Linked DNA regions of Homo sapiens: region 1 is linked to region 2. Evidence: promoter capture Hi-C in 16 types of primary human blood cells and fetal thymus (Javierre and others, 2016). All regions are on one chromosome and are shown on one strand. The core of a region is centred on a gene start or on the middle of the fragment in contact, and the rest is flanking DNA. Distances in the headings are between cores, read along the strand shown. Region 1 overlaps MPHOSPH6 (M-phase phosphoprotein 6). Region 2 holds the start of GCSH (glycine cleavage system protein H).

Region 1 (7,084 bases), core at 3,926-6,425, 1.1 Mb before region 2:
GAGTTCTGTCCTTTCTATGTGTACAGAACATATGTATATGGCTGTTGTATACCAAAAGAATAGGTACATGACTAAATGGGAGAAAAAAGGGCAGTTGGGCAGTATTGATGAGTTTTACCACGAGGAATATTAGTGATGAAATGAGGCATCTGCATTTAAAGAAAACCATCCCAGAAAGAGAATCTGGAAAAATAAGATAGGTCTAGGTTCATTTCCATTCAGAGAACTTTCACTGAGTGAGCTCTTTTGTGTACCAGGGGTGCCGCCTAAGTACCAATGATACAAGATGAACAAGAGTCATGGTCTATTCAGAATCGTAGTCCTGGGAGACACCAAAGCAGCACGATGGTGAACAATATTCCAGTGTTGATGAGGCTGTCTTGAGAATGTGCTTCTTTATAGGAGCAGACCTAGGAAGAGCCAAGCCAAATGCCAACCAGGAAGTCTTACCAAAGGACACACACTGTAGGCTTAAAAGAGTAAATATTTTGCCAGGCAGAAAATGGAAACGTGTTAAGTCGCAAAGGCAAAAGGACTGGGAAGTATAGCGTGCACATTCCAGAAACTGCAGTTCTTTCCTGGGATGAGGATGTACACACAGGTAAAATGGATGACGACTGCAAAACACTAGTCTGCAAACTTGTTTTCTTTTACTTTTTACTTAAAATAGTGATAGATTCACAGGAAGTTGCAAAAAGTGTACAGGGATATCCCGTGCGTCCTTCATGCCACCTCCCCTAGCGGCAACATTTTACAACACTAGGATATGATAAAGAGCCAGGACATTGACAGTGAGCTGACGCAGATTTCACCATTTTACACGCACTCATTTTGCGTGGACGGTTGCTGGGTCATATGGTAAGTGTATGTTTAGTTTGCTAAGAAACTGCCATGCTGTTTTCCACAGTGGCTGTACCATTTACTTTCCCACCAGCTATGTTTGAGTGATCAGTTTCTTCACATTCTCTTCAGCACTTGATGTTATCACCATCATGTGTTACTTAACACATGATTTAACAACAGGGATACGTTCTGAAACATGCATTGTTAGGTGATTTCATCATTGTGAGAGCATCATAGGGTTCATCTACGCAAACCTGGATGGTATAGCCTACCACACACTTAGGCTATATGGTACAGCCTGTTGTTCGTAGGCTGCAAACCTATACAGCATGCTACTGTACTGAATACTGTAGGCAGTTGTAACACAGTGGTGTCTGTGTATCTAAACATATCTAGATATAGAAAAGGTACAATAAAAATGCAGCATTGTAATCTTATGGGACCACTGTCATATATGGGTTCCATCGTCGACCAAACATCATTTTGCAGTGCATGACTATTTTATTCGTGAACGTTAAGGTTTTTTCATTTAACTTAGTAGTCATTGTTAAAGTGCTTATGCCTAAAAAGGCTTATGTTTGGAAAAGGTGGAATAGAAGGAGGAGAAATATGGGACCTGGGCCGGGCGCAGCGGCTCACACCTGTAATCCCAGCACTTTGGGAGGCCGAGGCGGGTGGATCACAAAGTCAGGAGTTTGAGACCAGCCTGGCCAAAGTGGTGAACCCCCGTCTCTACTAAAAACAGAAAAATTAGCTGGGTGTGGTGGCAGGCGCGTAATCTCAGCTACTCGAGAAGCTGAGGCAGGAGAACCTCTTGAACCTAGGAGGCAGAGGTTGCAGTGAGCTGAGATCGTGCCACTACACTCCAGCCTGGGCGACAGAGTGAGACTCTGTCTCAAAAAAAAAAAATAAAAAAAAAAATAAAAAAGAAATATCGGACCTGAATAAGGGAAAGAAATGGGGGATACATAGAAACCAGTGGAAGCTGAAACCTAACTGCTAGGAGGCTTCTGGGTATTTTCTGATTTTATTTTCTCCAGTGTTGATATTTTATCTTGTTGCTGTGGTTAGCCTCTTAAGTTTGTTCACTTGTTCCCTGAAGAAATACAGGTATTCATGCTAGTGAGAGACTGGCAGCAGGACTGTTATTTACTGCCATATTTTGAGTCAACTTTCTGCAGATTTGATAAGAGCAGCTCAAGAGTTTAGCAGCATTTCAGAGGAAAAATAAAAACGAAGAGCAGACTTATAGATGTACCTTTGCTTCTGCCTACATTTATCGGGCTCTTACTGTGCTTCAGTCATCATATTGGGACAGATGAAGGAGATGACCCAGACACCCAGTCCTTAAGGTCTCCAGAAAAGATAGATGCTCAGAAAGTTCAGATGTGGTGAGTCTATTGGAGGGAGCCATGGAAGCATTTAGGACAGAGGCACTGATTTTACTGGCACTCATAGAAGTCTAGTAGCTTTACCTATGTCAGACGGGCGAGGAGTTGGCCAGGTGGAAGAGGATAAGAAGGGCATTTCAACCCCAGATCAGCAGGTGCCAAAGCCAGTGGGCTCTGTGGGTGAGCACAAGACCTTCGAATGTGGTGTCTTAGCCCTTAAGTTTTCCGAAGGAAATATACATTGTGCATTTTCTCATGCCCTGACACAAGCCCTCATCGTCTAGTGTAAAGTTGGAAGGGTAGAGCTAAACCGTTTGATCACTTGCCCCAACCCTCAATCTTGAGATGGGTTCCATAGATAAATGAAGGAGAACAAGTAGAAGAAGAAAATTATTTGGGGTTTCCTCAGTTCTAAAATGGGAAAAGTTTCTGACATTGATTTTGTTTGTTTTCACAGTTTATGCAAAGGGGACTGGACTCAGAAACCAAGAAACAACTAGAAGAAGAAGAAAAGAAAATCATTAGTGAAGAGCACTGGTACTTGGATTTGCCAGAGCTTAAAGAGAAAGAGTAGGTTTATTAAAATTGATACTGATGATGCTTGTGGCATTCAGAAGGAAACTCCTGGTAAATTTAACTCATCATTCCGGTGACATAAAGCCCATGAAATTGTTTCTGTTCAGTTTATTGATTTAGTAGCACAACTAAAAAATATTAAACCTATAGAAGTTGTACATGGATTTATACATTTTTACTACTCCCCCTCCCAGCCACTATTTTGTCCTTTTTTACATTGAATGAAGGAACCTAGCCCACATATCTCTGATAGTAACAGCAGACCTTTGGGGAAGCTGTAATGTTCTCTCTATCACCTTAAGTTCTAAAGATTAGGGGTGTACTTCAGGTCTCTCCAGTTTTGTTTCGGTTACAGAGTTCATTAGGTTGAGCATTTTAAGGCAGGTCAGAAGTTTTTGTTTCTTCTTTTAAATTGTTACTACTTGTAATACCATCCATTTTAGCTAACATTTACTGAATCTATAGTGTGTACCAGGAACTGGGCTAAACACTTTACATCTGTAGTTATTGAATCTTCGTAGCAAACTTAGGAACTGCCTCCTATGATTCTGTCACTTTGTAGTTGAGGAACTGAGCTTAAGGGAGGGTAACTTGCCCAGCTTCACCCAGCTAGTCAGTGCTGAAGGCTGGGGTAGACAGTTTCTGGCCCACCCCTAAGCTTGGCTGGTGCCTGATCAACAATTTTGAATGAAGGAGTGTTGGATTTATTTCATCCATTAATTTAGCTGAATCCTTCTGGAAGCTATTTTTCATTTTTCCCTGATACTTTCCTCACCTTAGTAAGCTCTGTTGTATGGTAGTTTTACTTAAACTTTGGTCAAATGACTGAAGATGCTGCTTACTGTCTTGAGGCACATTTATGTGTTTCCATTCTGTACCTGATGTTTGGGCTTTGATTTGGAATGTTATATTCCCCTGTTCATTTGGCTGACCTCTGGACATTGTTTGAAGGTTAGATACCCTTCTCTAAAGATAGAAAGTATGTCCCACCAGGAGGGATCGGGAGAAGGTACTTTTTTTCTCTGCTTCTCAGAGGAAGCAAGATGTTGGTGAGGAGGGAGAAGATAGTGCCAGGGGCAGGGTCACAGGGAGGAAGGGACCTTTGCTGCTGGAGCTATAATTTACTTTTATGCCTTAAGTAAACTTGCCAAAGTGTTCCTTCCAGTTGTTTATTAAAGAGCAGGACTGTTTCTATCTTGTTTCCAGTATTTTTCCCCTAATACAGCATATTATTCCCAGAAAATGACCTTTACATTTCTTTCTGGGAAGGTAAATAATGCCTTTTTGCCATTACTCAGCATCCTGTTTATGTATAGGTGTGTATATCAGCTCAGGATGTTGGCAGGAGAAGATGACACTCTCAGACTGAGGAGAGACTATCAAGGTGTGGGTGGGGCATAGGGGGGCCCCTCGGGGCAGTGCAGCACCTCCTAGCATGTGTAGTGGGAGTGATTACCACCTGAGCTTGCAGAGTCAACGGGTGGGTGGGGAATAGCTGCTACCGAATCTGCAGATAAGTTGTGTAGAGAGAGCACCTTACAGGAGCTGCTACCTCCATTCACGGGTACGGCCAGCCCAAGGTCATCCTAGCAAGGGAGCCAGGTACCTGGCAGCAAAGGAGCCCTTCCGTGCATTACGTTCAAGTCAGCCTCCCAGGCCAGAGAAACAGGTGAAGACGGGAAGTAGGTCTGGAGGGGTGAATGGATGACATGTCCTTGGTATACGTGTTGTATTGAGTTGTTGTTTTTAACACTCTAAATAGGGAGATCATGGAATGGATTGGTTGATTAAGCACATGGGCTCTGAAGTCAGGCAGACCTGGGTTTGATGCCCAGCTCCGCCAGTTGTTTACTTGTCACCTTGGGTGAGTTACTTAACCTGTTTTGTGTCATTTGTGTATTGGGTATGATGATAGTACCTGTCCAGTACATTCCGAGAAGTAGATGAGGTAATATATGTAAAACAGTCACCATAACACCAGGCATAAAGCACAGTGATTGTCACCATTGTGTGTATTTCCTTATATCTGAATATATGAAGTACACCCATTCCTTTCTACTCACTTATGTTTGTGTATCCTTTTTTGCTAGTGTTGTCTTAACTATTCTGTGAATTTGGAGATTGCATGTGTCTGTGCTCTGAAAGTCTCGACTTTCCCATTTTTAATGTCAGCCGTATCAGTCTGTAATTCAGTGAAGATAATTAGGGCTATTCAGTGTTAACACTGCCTCACAGGGGACACTTTTAGCCAGTGGCTAGACCATGTAGGGGAATGATGATCTAGCTGCTGTGCCTCAACTTGGAACAACTGAAGGGCATTCCTGACTCCAGAGCTCTCATATGTGGCTGAGGCCTTAGTGTAGCCACATTGCCCATTATCTTCTCCCTCTGCCCAATCCTTCTTTCTCTGTTTTCCTAGAAGGGCATCTGCTGAACAACACTGCCTGCTAAGTTTTCTGCATATATGTCTGTCTCAGAGTCTGTTTCCAGGGAACCCGATATAGTGTGAATTCCTAGGAGTGAAATTTACCAGATGAAAGATTTTGCTATCTATTGCCTTATTGTTTTTTTCCCCAAGGATATGGTCCAGAAAGAGTGTGCAAGTATAGGCAGTTTAATTCCTCCTTTGCCGTAGCAAGTTGTTTAAGAAGTATTTTTGGCTATTGTACATCTTATACTTGTGTTTTGTGGTCTGTTTGGAGTCAGAAGCTATAGGGACCTGAAACTAACAAGTTAGCCTGCCACACTTTCACTGATGCTGGTGGAAGATAGGAACCTTCTGGGTCTGAGATGTAGGGGAGGGACAATAGCCTTTCCTTCCACCCATTTGAAGTTCATTAGTTGGGGTCCCTGTAACAAAAGACAGATTAACAAAGAGAAAGGTATACACTTTTATTTCACAAAAGTTTTAGGTGACACAGGAGCCTTCATAAGAAAATGAATACCGAAGAACTGGTTGAACCTGAGTGTTTTTATGTTAGCTTTGATGAAGAGTGGAAAGTTGTGAAGAAATATGATGGGAGCAAGGGGTATGAACGAAGAGTAATAAGCCAGGAGAAACTTAGCAAGTCTTTTGTTCAGATTCCTCTCTCTGTCCCTTCTTCTGAGATAAGGATGTTGCTTTCCTCTGAGTGTAGGGAGGGCACCTCTTATGTGAGATGCTTTTATGACCTGCTTCAGGGGACAGTCAGAAAATCCTACCTGCACGTCATTTTTCAGATTCCTCCAGTGTAAAATTTTCAGTATGCCAAGATGCCATATTTTGGGAGTAGTGTCTCCTGAACACCATCAGAAACAAAGGACTTACTGTACAGCAAGCAGCACAAGCATCAAGTTTGCGTCATTTCTCTTTTGTCCCCAACTCCTATGAGGGATGGCGTGAAGTGGCCCAGGTGGATGCTGTGCACCCAGTGGATTTGCATCATAGCTGAGATCTCCTGAGCTTAGAAAACTGGAACCTTGGATAACGGACCACAAGCAGACTTGCCTTCGGCCCCAAGAGAGGCATCTGTATTATGCTGGACAGTAAGCAAATCTGCCCTTCGCTTTAGAGGAAGACTGTTTTTCAAGGCTGCTCGCTATGCAGATATCCTTGCAAAGATAGTCCAGAGCAACCGGGCAGTTAGTGCCTCACTCAAAAAATGTGCAGGAATGTGAGACCCACTGAGAAGGGTTTTCTAACTGGAGTTTTGCCATGGTATTTGTGGCTTTAGGCAAGTCCAGCTTTTTCTGAGCAGTAGTTTCTCATCTGCGAAATTTATGAAATAATTTTGTGGGTGTGTTTTAGCCTGAAAATTATCCTCATTAATGAAAATTGGATAATTAAAATACAAAAAGAGGTAAGTTTTGAAATATTTCACTTGCTTGCCAACTCTGTAATTAATTTTTCTAATTCTTAAAACCATGCATGTAGATACAAAACACCTGTGCTCCTTTTTATATTAAAGATACGGTGTCAATGCAAACCCGTGGGAAAAACCTCTGAGGGGCCAGTAGTCCTGCTCTGAATCCAGTCCTGACCTCTGGAGGTTGTCTTTCTCTGGGTCCCTCCTTTGCCTTAAGTGAAAGCTTTGATGTATGGTGCTTTCCTGAGAGAGATGATTTACTTTGGAATTGAGGAGGTCTCATCAGCTGCTCCCTCTATAAGGAATAAGATTGGGCAATTGAGAGGGAATCCCAAGTTCATAGAAAAAGCTGAACAGCAAGTTCTGTGCCCAAATTTAGATTCCCTCAGGGAGAGGCGGTTCTGAAGTAAGTGAGTTTCTAGCCAGACT
Region 2 (7,182 bases), core at 3,981-6,480:
GTGGATCACTAGATGCCAGGAGTTTGATACCTGCCTGGCCAACATGGTAAAACTCTCTCTCTACTAAAAATACAAAAATTAGCTGAGCGTGGTGGCGGGTGCCTGTAATCCCAACTACTCGGGAGGCTGAGGCGGGAGAATCGCTTGAACTCGGGAGGCGGAAGTTGCAGTGAGCCAAGATTGTGCGACTGCACTCCAGCCTGGGCGACACAGTGAGACTCCATCTCAAACAATAAAATAAAATAAAATAAATAAAAATAAAAACTATGACTTCCCCTTAGAAAGAAAAGCCCCCAAAGAAGATGGTTCTATGGGCATTGCCTGGTTCTTTCTCTTGCAGCTGTCGGAGGAAGGGGAGATCGTAGATTTGCTGCTGATGAAAATACTCAGTTTCCTGGGCATTAAGTCTAAGAGAGAGGAGCCTGGAAGCAGCAGGGAGCAGCCTGGGTCTCTGTCCCAGACTCGCCACTCTCGACCAGCACAAGCTTTGCCCAAGGACTAAGCTGTTCGTCCACACGCCACCATCTACCAGTGGGGACGCCCAGGGCCTCGGGCGTACGCTTACCAGCGACTCTATAGTCTCTCTAGGTCATAGCTTTCATGTCCATTGAAGAATTACCAAGCCCAGCAAGTAAAAAAAATTACAATAACAGAGATATATGTAAAATTGCCAATACTATGAGAGCTTCTTTGTTCAAATGTATTTCCTCTTATTATAAATAAAACAAATATTACATGGAGTTTGGAAAATTTCCTGCACAGACTAATTATTTCGTCTTTTTAGTCCGTTGGGGGTTGCTTTTGAATGATTCTAGTTCAGGGCTTCTCAAACTGTCTGAGAGATGCTAATGGATGCTGTATTAGTTTCCCAGAACAATGTATCACAAACGAAGTGGCTTAAAACGACAGAAATGCATTCTGTCCCAGCTCTGGAGCCTGGAAGTGTGCAATCAAGATGTTGGCAGTGGCCGGGCATGGTGGCTCACGCCTGTAATCCCAGCACTTTGGGAGGCCGAGGCGTGCGGATCACTTGAGGCCAGGAGTTCGAGACCAGCCTGGCCAACAGGGTGAAACCCTGTCTCTACTAAAAATACAAAAATTAACCAGGTGTGGTGGCGGGCGCCTGTAGTCCCAGCTACTCAGGAGGCTGAGGCAGGAGAATCCCTTGAACCCGGGAGGCGGAGGTTGCAGTGAGCCTAGGTGGTGCCACTGTACTCCAGCCCGGGCGACAGAGCATGACTCCGTCTCACAAAAAAAAAAAAGAAAAGAAAGAAAAAAGATGTTGGCAGTGCCATGCTCCCTCTGAGGGCTCTAGGGAAGAATCCTTCTTGCCTCTTCCAGCTTTTGGTGTTGGCCAGCCAGCCTTGGTGTCCCTTGGCTTCTAGATGTGTCACTCCCAGATGGGAAGAAGCTTGCTGGGAGCCTGTGTTCCTTCTCCTTTTCTCAGCACACCAGCCATATTGAATTAGGGGCCCACCCTAGTCCAGGGTGACCTCATCTGAACTAATTATAATACATCTGCAGGGATCCTGTTTCCCAATATGGTCACATCTGAAGAACTGGGACTTAGGACTTTGACATACCTCTTTAGGAGCCACAATTCAAACCAGAACAGGTGTCATTCCTCCAAAAATGTTTCTGGGTCAAATAAATATGGGGAATACTGGTTTATAAAAGTTTTTTTGTTTGTTTGTTTGTTTGTTTGAGACAGGGTCTTGCTCTGTTGCCCAGGCTGGAATGCAGTGGCATGATTTCAGCTCACTGAAACCTCTGCCTCCCAAGATCAAATGATTCTTGTGTCTCAGGCTTCCCAGTATCTGGGACTACAGGCACACAAGAGCATGCCTGGGTAATTTTTGTATTTTTTTGTAGAGACGGGGTTTCACCATGTTGGCCAGGCTGGTCTTGAACTCCTGGCCTCAAGTGATCTGCCTACCTAGGCCTCCCACAGTGCTGGGATTACAGGCATGAGCCACCGCACCCAGTCTACTGTATTGTTATAAGAGGAAAATATGTCTATCAGCTCAAAGAGATGAATGGGCCCCTCTCAAAACACCTGGAAGAAATGACCACCTGGAATTTTCCAGAGCTTATACTCAATGGGCAACGAGATGACCTTTAAAATCTCAAACCAGGAGGTTACAAAGATTACTAGGTAGAAAAAGAAAAAAAATTTTGACTGTCTTCAATGCTTTTTACCAAAAGAAAAACACATGTCATATTTTTTGGTGGAAGGGCCTTTTTGTAGCCCATATGTTGATGTTGATGTGTGATCTTTTTCTTCCCATCACATGAGTTAGTGAAGCTGAGAATAAATATGTTAGGGTGTAAGTGGCACGATGCTGCACTGTCTTGTAATGAAACAACAATAGAAAACAACATCTTGACATTAGAGAAGGTAGCCAAGATCTGTAGTGCAGGGTAGACCAGCGTGATCCAGTCAGCATCCCAAACGAAAGCAAGCGGAGCAGAGCTTAAGAGCAATTGCTGGCCAGGCACGGTGGTTCATGCCTGTAATCCCAGCACTTTGGAAGGCCGAGGTGGGTGGATTACAAGGTCAGGAGTTCGAGACCAGCTTGGCCAACATAGTGAAACCCCATCTCTACTAAACATACAAAAATTAGACGGGCGTGGTGGCACGTGGTCCTGTAGTCCCAGCCACTCGGGAGGCTGAAGCAGGAGAATTGCTTGAACCCGGGAGGCAGAGGTTGCAGTGAGCCAAGATCACGCCACTGCGCTCCAGCTTGGGCGACAGAGCTAGACTTCGTCTCGAAAAAAAAAAAGAAAAAAAGAAGAGTTGCTTTCTAATCAGTGTAGAGGCCAAGGTCTACTACTGCCACCTAGGAGCTACTTAAGCCACAAAAACGCCTCCCCGATCCCACTCCTCGGAAGTGCCTTCACCTCTGAGCCTCATCTATGAAATGAGTGTAACACCTGCCAGAAAGAGGTTTGGAGAGGATTAAAAAGATGTGTGCATAGTGCCAGGCACATAGCAAAGGCTCAATAGATGGGAATGATTTGCTCAAAAGAAAGTGGGCATGACGGCCCTTGCAAGCCACTGCACAGATGTGGTGGCAACCCTAAGTTCATAGCAGGGCAGAAGCTCAGTGCAACAACGTATGGGCTCCCCAAACACACACACACTCCATGGTGTGCACCCTATGGTACTGTTTCCGGTGTTTGAACAAGAACAACTCCATTTTGAATATGGGCTGGGTAAAATGAGGCTGAGACTTGGTGGGCTGCATTCCCAGGAGGTTAGGCATTCTTTTTATTTGTATTTTTTTCTGAAGCAGAGTCTCGCTCTGTCACCCAGGCTGGAGTGCAGTGGCGTGATCTCGACTCACTGCAACCTCTGCCTCCCAGGCTCAAGTGATTCTCGTGCCTCAGCCTCCTGAGTAGCTGGGATTACAGGCACCTGCCACCATGCCTGGCTAAACTTTGGATTTGTAGTAGAGACGGGGGTTTCTCCATGTTGGCCAGGTTGGTCTCGAACTCCTGACCTCAAGTGATTCACCTGCCTCACTTAGTCACAGGATGAGCTAGGGTTGGCACAAGATACAGGTCACAAAGTCCCTGCTGATAAAATAGGATGCGGTAAAGGAGCTGGCCAAAACTCACCAAAACCAAGATGGCGACCTCTGGTAGGTCTCACTGCTCATTATACGCTAATTATAATGCATTAGCATGTTAAAAAAAAAACAACTCCCACCAGCGTCATGACAGTTCACAAATGCAATGGCAACGTCCAGAGAAGTTACCCTATAGTCCAAAAAGCGGAGGAACCGTTAGTTCTAGGAAATCCCTGCCCCTTTTCTGGAGAACTCTTGAATGATCCACCCCTTGTTTAGCATACAATCAAGAAATAACTATAAGTACACTTAGTCGAGAAGCCATACTGCTGCTCTGTCTACGAAGAAGCCATTCTTTTTTTTCTTTACTTCTCTATTAAACGTGCTTTCACTTTATAGACTCTCCCCAAATTCTTTCTTGCATGAGGTCCAAAAACCCTCTCTTGGGGTCTGGATTGGGAGCCCTTTCTGTAACAGTACTAAAGGTGTGTGTGTAGCTTAAGGTGTTTTTCAGAACAGTATTTCTTTGCTGACTCATGGCCACTCCATAAAATCTGTGTTAAAGGTGAGGTTTTTCCCAGAACCTAATTTTTTTCTGACTTCTTGGATTGGGATGATGACTTCGGCTTTTCTCGGAAGGCCTTGGTCACACCGCTGGCCGATGAAACAAGGAATTGTGCACACTGGGTCTCAGCTCTCTGCGTTTTGAATATTTCTGCATTAGTGACTGGCTTGGGTCCAGTCTCCACCAAGAAGCCACTTATGACCCTTGGACAAGTCTTTATTCCTTTTTAAGTAAGCTTCTGGATTCTGCCGGTCCTGTTTGGGGTCCCTGGGGCTCTTTGAGACAGGAACGTTACAGAGCAGTTGAAGGAGAATAGAAACTTCCAGGCTGCAGTTCTGTCTAACAAAAGGAAACTGTTGAAATAGCTGCACAAGCTATGGGCTAAGACCCTGAAAAACCAGGGTGTGGGTCAACCTGGCTAAAACCAACTGGACCCAACGTGGTGTGGCTTTGACCTAGGCTTCACCTAGGACTCATTAACATACTAAGTCACACACCCACCGGCACCACAACAATTCCGGGAACACCCATATTTGGTGTAAAAATGGGTGGCACCACAGTTCTGACAAGTCTCCACCTTATTCCAGAAACCTTTGTGTATATTCCATTTCTCAAAGAAACCCATAAAGATGGAAACCCCAAGCCCCATTGTGTGGCCCTCTTTTGAGTCCGCCCTTTCTTCAGTGTGTACTTTGCAGTAAACCTCTGTACTTTCACGACTTTCCGACTTGTTCTTGAATTCCTTCGTGAGGTGGTGAAACCACCTTTGAAAACTTATGACAGAGGCAGTAAAAGAGATACACATGTGGAAAGGAACCCAGTCTGGGGCTAGGCCCCGCCCCCCTCCTGCGGGCAGCCCAATCATACCCAGGCCCGCCGCGCTAGTCTCCGCCTCTCGGTGCTGCCTCTTCCGGGCCTCAGGTTCTTCCCCATGCCCACGCCCCTCTTTCGCGTCGCCGTATCCGAGGTCGCGCCAGGCCCTGGAGTCCCCAGTCTCCGCGTGCTGGCCAATCAGACCCTGCCTCGCCCCCTCGCCTGGGAGTCTCCGCCCTCCACGCTCTGCCCAGTCAGGCTCTGTCCCGCCCCCGCGGCACCGCCTCCGCGCCTCCATCCAGCCGGCTCCCTCCGGCCGCGAACTGCCCCTCCCCGCCCCGCCTCCCGGCGCGGGTGGCCGAGGCGTAGCGCTGCGACCCCCGCACCCCTGCGAACATGGCGCTGCGAGTGGTGCGGAGCGTGCGGGCCCTGCTCTGCACCCTGCGCGCGGTCCCGTCACCCGCCGCGCCCTGCCCGCCGAGGCCCTGGCAGCTGGGGGTGGGCGCCGTCCGTACGCTGCGCACTGGACCCGCTCTGCTCTCGGGTAAGCGCGGCGGGCACGTGGGCGGCTGCTCCCTCCCCGCCTGGGCTGCTTGTCCCGGGCCCAGCGGGACACGGAGGACGCCGGGGCACCGCTCCTGAGCCACCGGGGCGGAGCGAGCGCGGACCCTGCCCCCTTCTTATTTCTGTTGGGATCCCTGGCTCTGCGGCCGCTTCTCCCCCTTAAGTAGCGGGAGGACCCGCGAGTAGCCTTTGCCCTAGGGATTGCATGCAGCCGGGAGGGGAGGCCTGCGGGACACCGAGGCGGGGGTGGCCCGGCGGGTCCGGCGGGCAGGTCGGCCGCTTGCTGCAGAAGCCAGGCACGTGTCGCTTAAGCGTCTCGGTGGCCTTAAGTTTATCTCCCATCTGCGTGCATCGTTGAGACCCCAAATGGGGAGGCCTTTAGTTTACTAAATGGACCGTTACTGAGAACTCCGAAGTAAAATTAAAACAGAAGCGCTTATTAAAATTAAAGCACCAGGCAGGGCGCGTTGGCTCATGCCGGAGGGCGGATCACGAGGTCAGGAGATCGAGACTATCCTGGCTAACACGGTGAAATCCCATCTCTACTAAAAGTACAAAAAATTAGCCAGGCGTGGCGGCATGCGCATGTAATCCCAGCTACTCGGGAGGCTGAGGCAGGAGAATCGCTTGAACCTGGGAGGCAGAGGTTGCAGTGAGCCGAGATCGCGCCACTGCACTCCAGCCTGGGCGACAGAGCAAAACTCCACCTCAAAAAAAAAAAAAAAAAAAAAAATTAAAGCGCCAGATCTAGATTTTTTTACTAGATAAAACAATCATAACTTTGAAGATTCAGCTATTTCCCCAAAACAAGTAAGATAAAGTCTTCTGGACTCAACAGAAGTTCTGCTAAAGTTTGTATTGGATCATTCATGTGTGTGCTTGCTGAAATGAGCCCTAACTCAAACGGACTTGAAATAACTGGGAAACCTGCCCATGAATGTTTCGGCCATTTGTGCTACTTCAGCACAATTATTGCAGGGGAAAAACAATTTTCTTTTTTTTTTTTTTTCTTTTTATTGAGACGGAGCCTCGCTCTGTCGCCCAGGCTGGAGTGCAGCGGCGTGATCTCGGCTCACTGCAAGCGCCACCTCCCAGATTCAAGCGATTCTCTTGCCTCAGCCTCCCGAGTAGCTGGGTTCACTGGCGCCCGTCACCACCTCCAGCTGAGTTTTGTATTTTTAGTAGAGACAGGGTTTCGCCACGTTAGGCTGGTCTCAAACTCCTGACCTCAAGTGATCCACCCGCCTCAGCCTCCCAAAGTGCTGAGATTACAGTCGTGCGTCACCGCGCCAGGCCAACAATTTTCTTTACGCCCAAATGTTTGATACACTGACTGCTCCTCTGCTTCGATTGCGTAGATCAGTGATGGCTCTTGTCTCATTAGCTCATTGTTTTAGAAACCTGTTTGGAGCTGGAATGGTTGATAAATTTATTCCAAAATTTGTAGCATAAAGATTTACTTATGCTGTCTTGCTAATAGTCTGTCCGCTCTGTTTCTGATAGGGATCCCTACATCACTAATTTGAATACAAAGGTAAAGCATTTCTCAGATAAGAATTTAGTTTCAAGTCTGTGGTTTTCGTTCCTTTTTTTTTTCTTCTTTTTTGAGATGGAGTCTCGCTCTGTCGCCCAGGCTGGCATCCAGTGGCAGGATCTTGGCTCACTGCA

What was found. The method cuts DNA at HindIII sites, captures the fragments that hold promoters and counts their contacts. A CHiCAGO score of 5 or more calls a contact.
Region 1: a contact is called between a fragment that was not itself captured here and the fragment with the promoter of GCSH in region 2, in 2 of 17 cell types (fetal thymus and naive CD8 T cells). The highest score is 6.6, in fetal thymus.

What each region holds. Positions count from the first base shown.
Region 1 is chr16:82,159,802-82,166,885 of GRCh38, reverse strand. It overlaps MPHOSPH6 (M-phase phosphoprotein 6), which reads left to right. Exons shown (of 5, transcript NM_005792.2): 2 at 2,692-2,804. Among named protein-coding and RNA genes, the nearest start is that of MPHOSPH6, 6.9 kb to the left of the region's middle. RefSeq lists cis regulatory regions at 893, 1,030, 3,683, 6,086 and enhancers at 821-965, 958-1,102, 3,611-3,755, 6,014-6,158. The HindIII fragment of the contact is 3,410 bases long and covers 3,471-6,880 here.
Region 2 is chr16:81,094,443-81,101,624 of GRCh38, reverse strand. GCSH (glycine cleavage system protein H) reads left to right here and starts at 5,230. Exons shown (of 5, transcript NM_004483.5): 1 at 5,230-5,494. The coding sequence starts at 5,347. It also overlaps the pseudogene PKD1L2. RefSeq lists silencers at 4,894-4,993, 5,144-5,813. The HindIII fragment of the contact is 7,249 bases long and covers 4,375-7,182 here.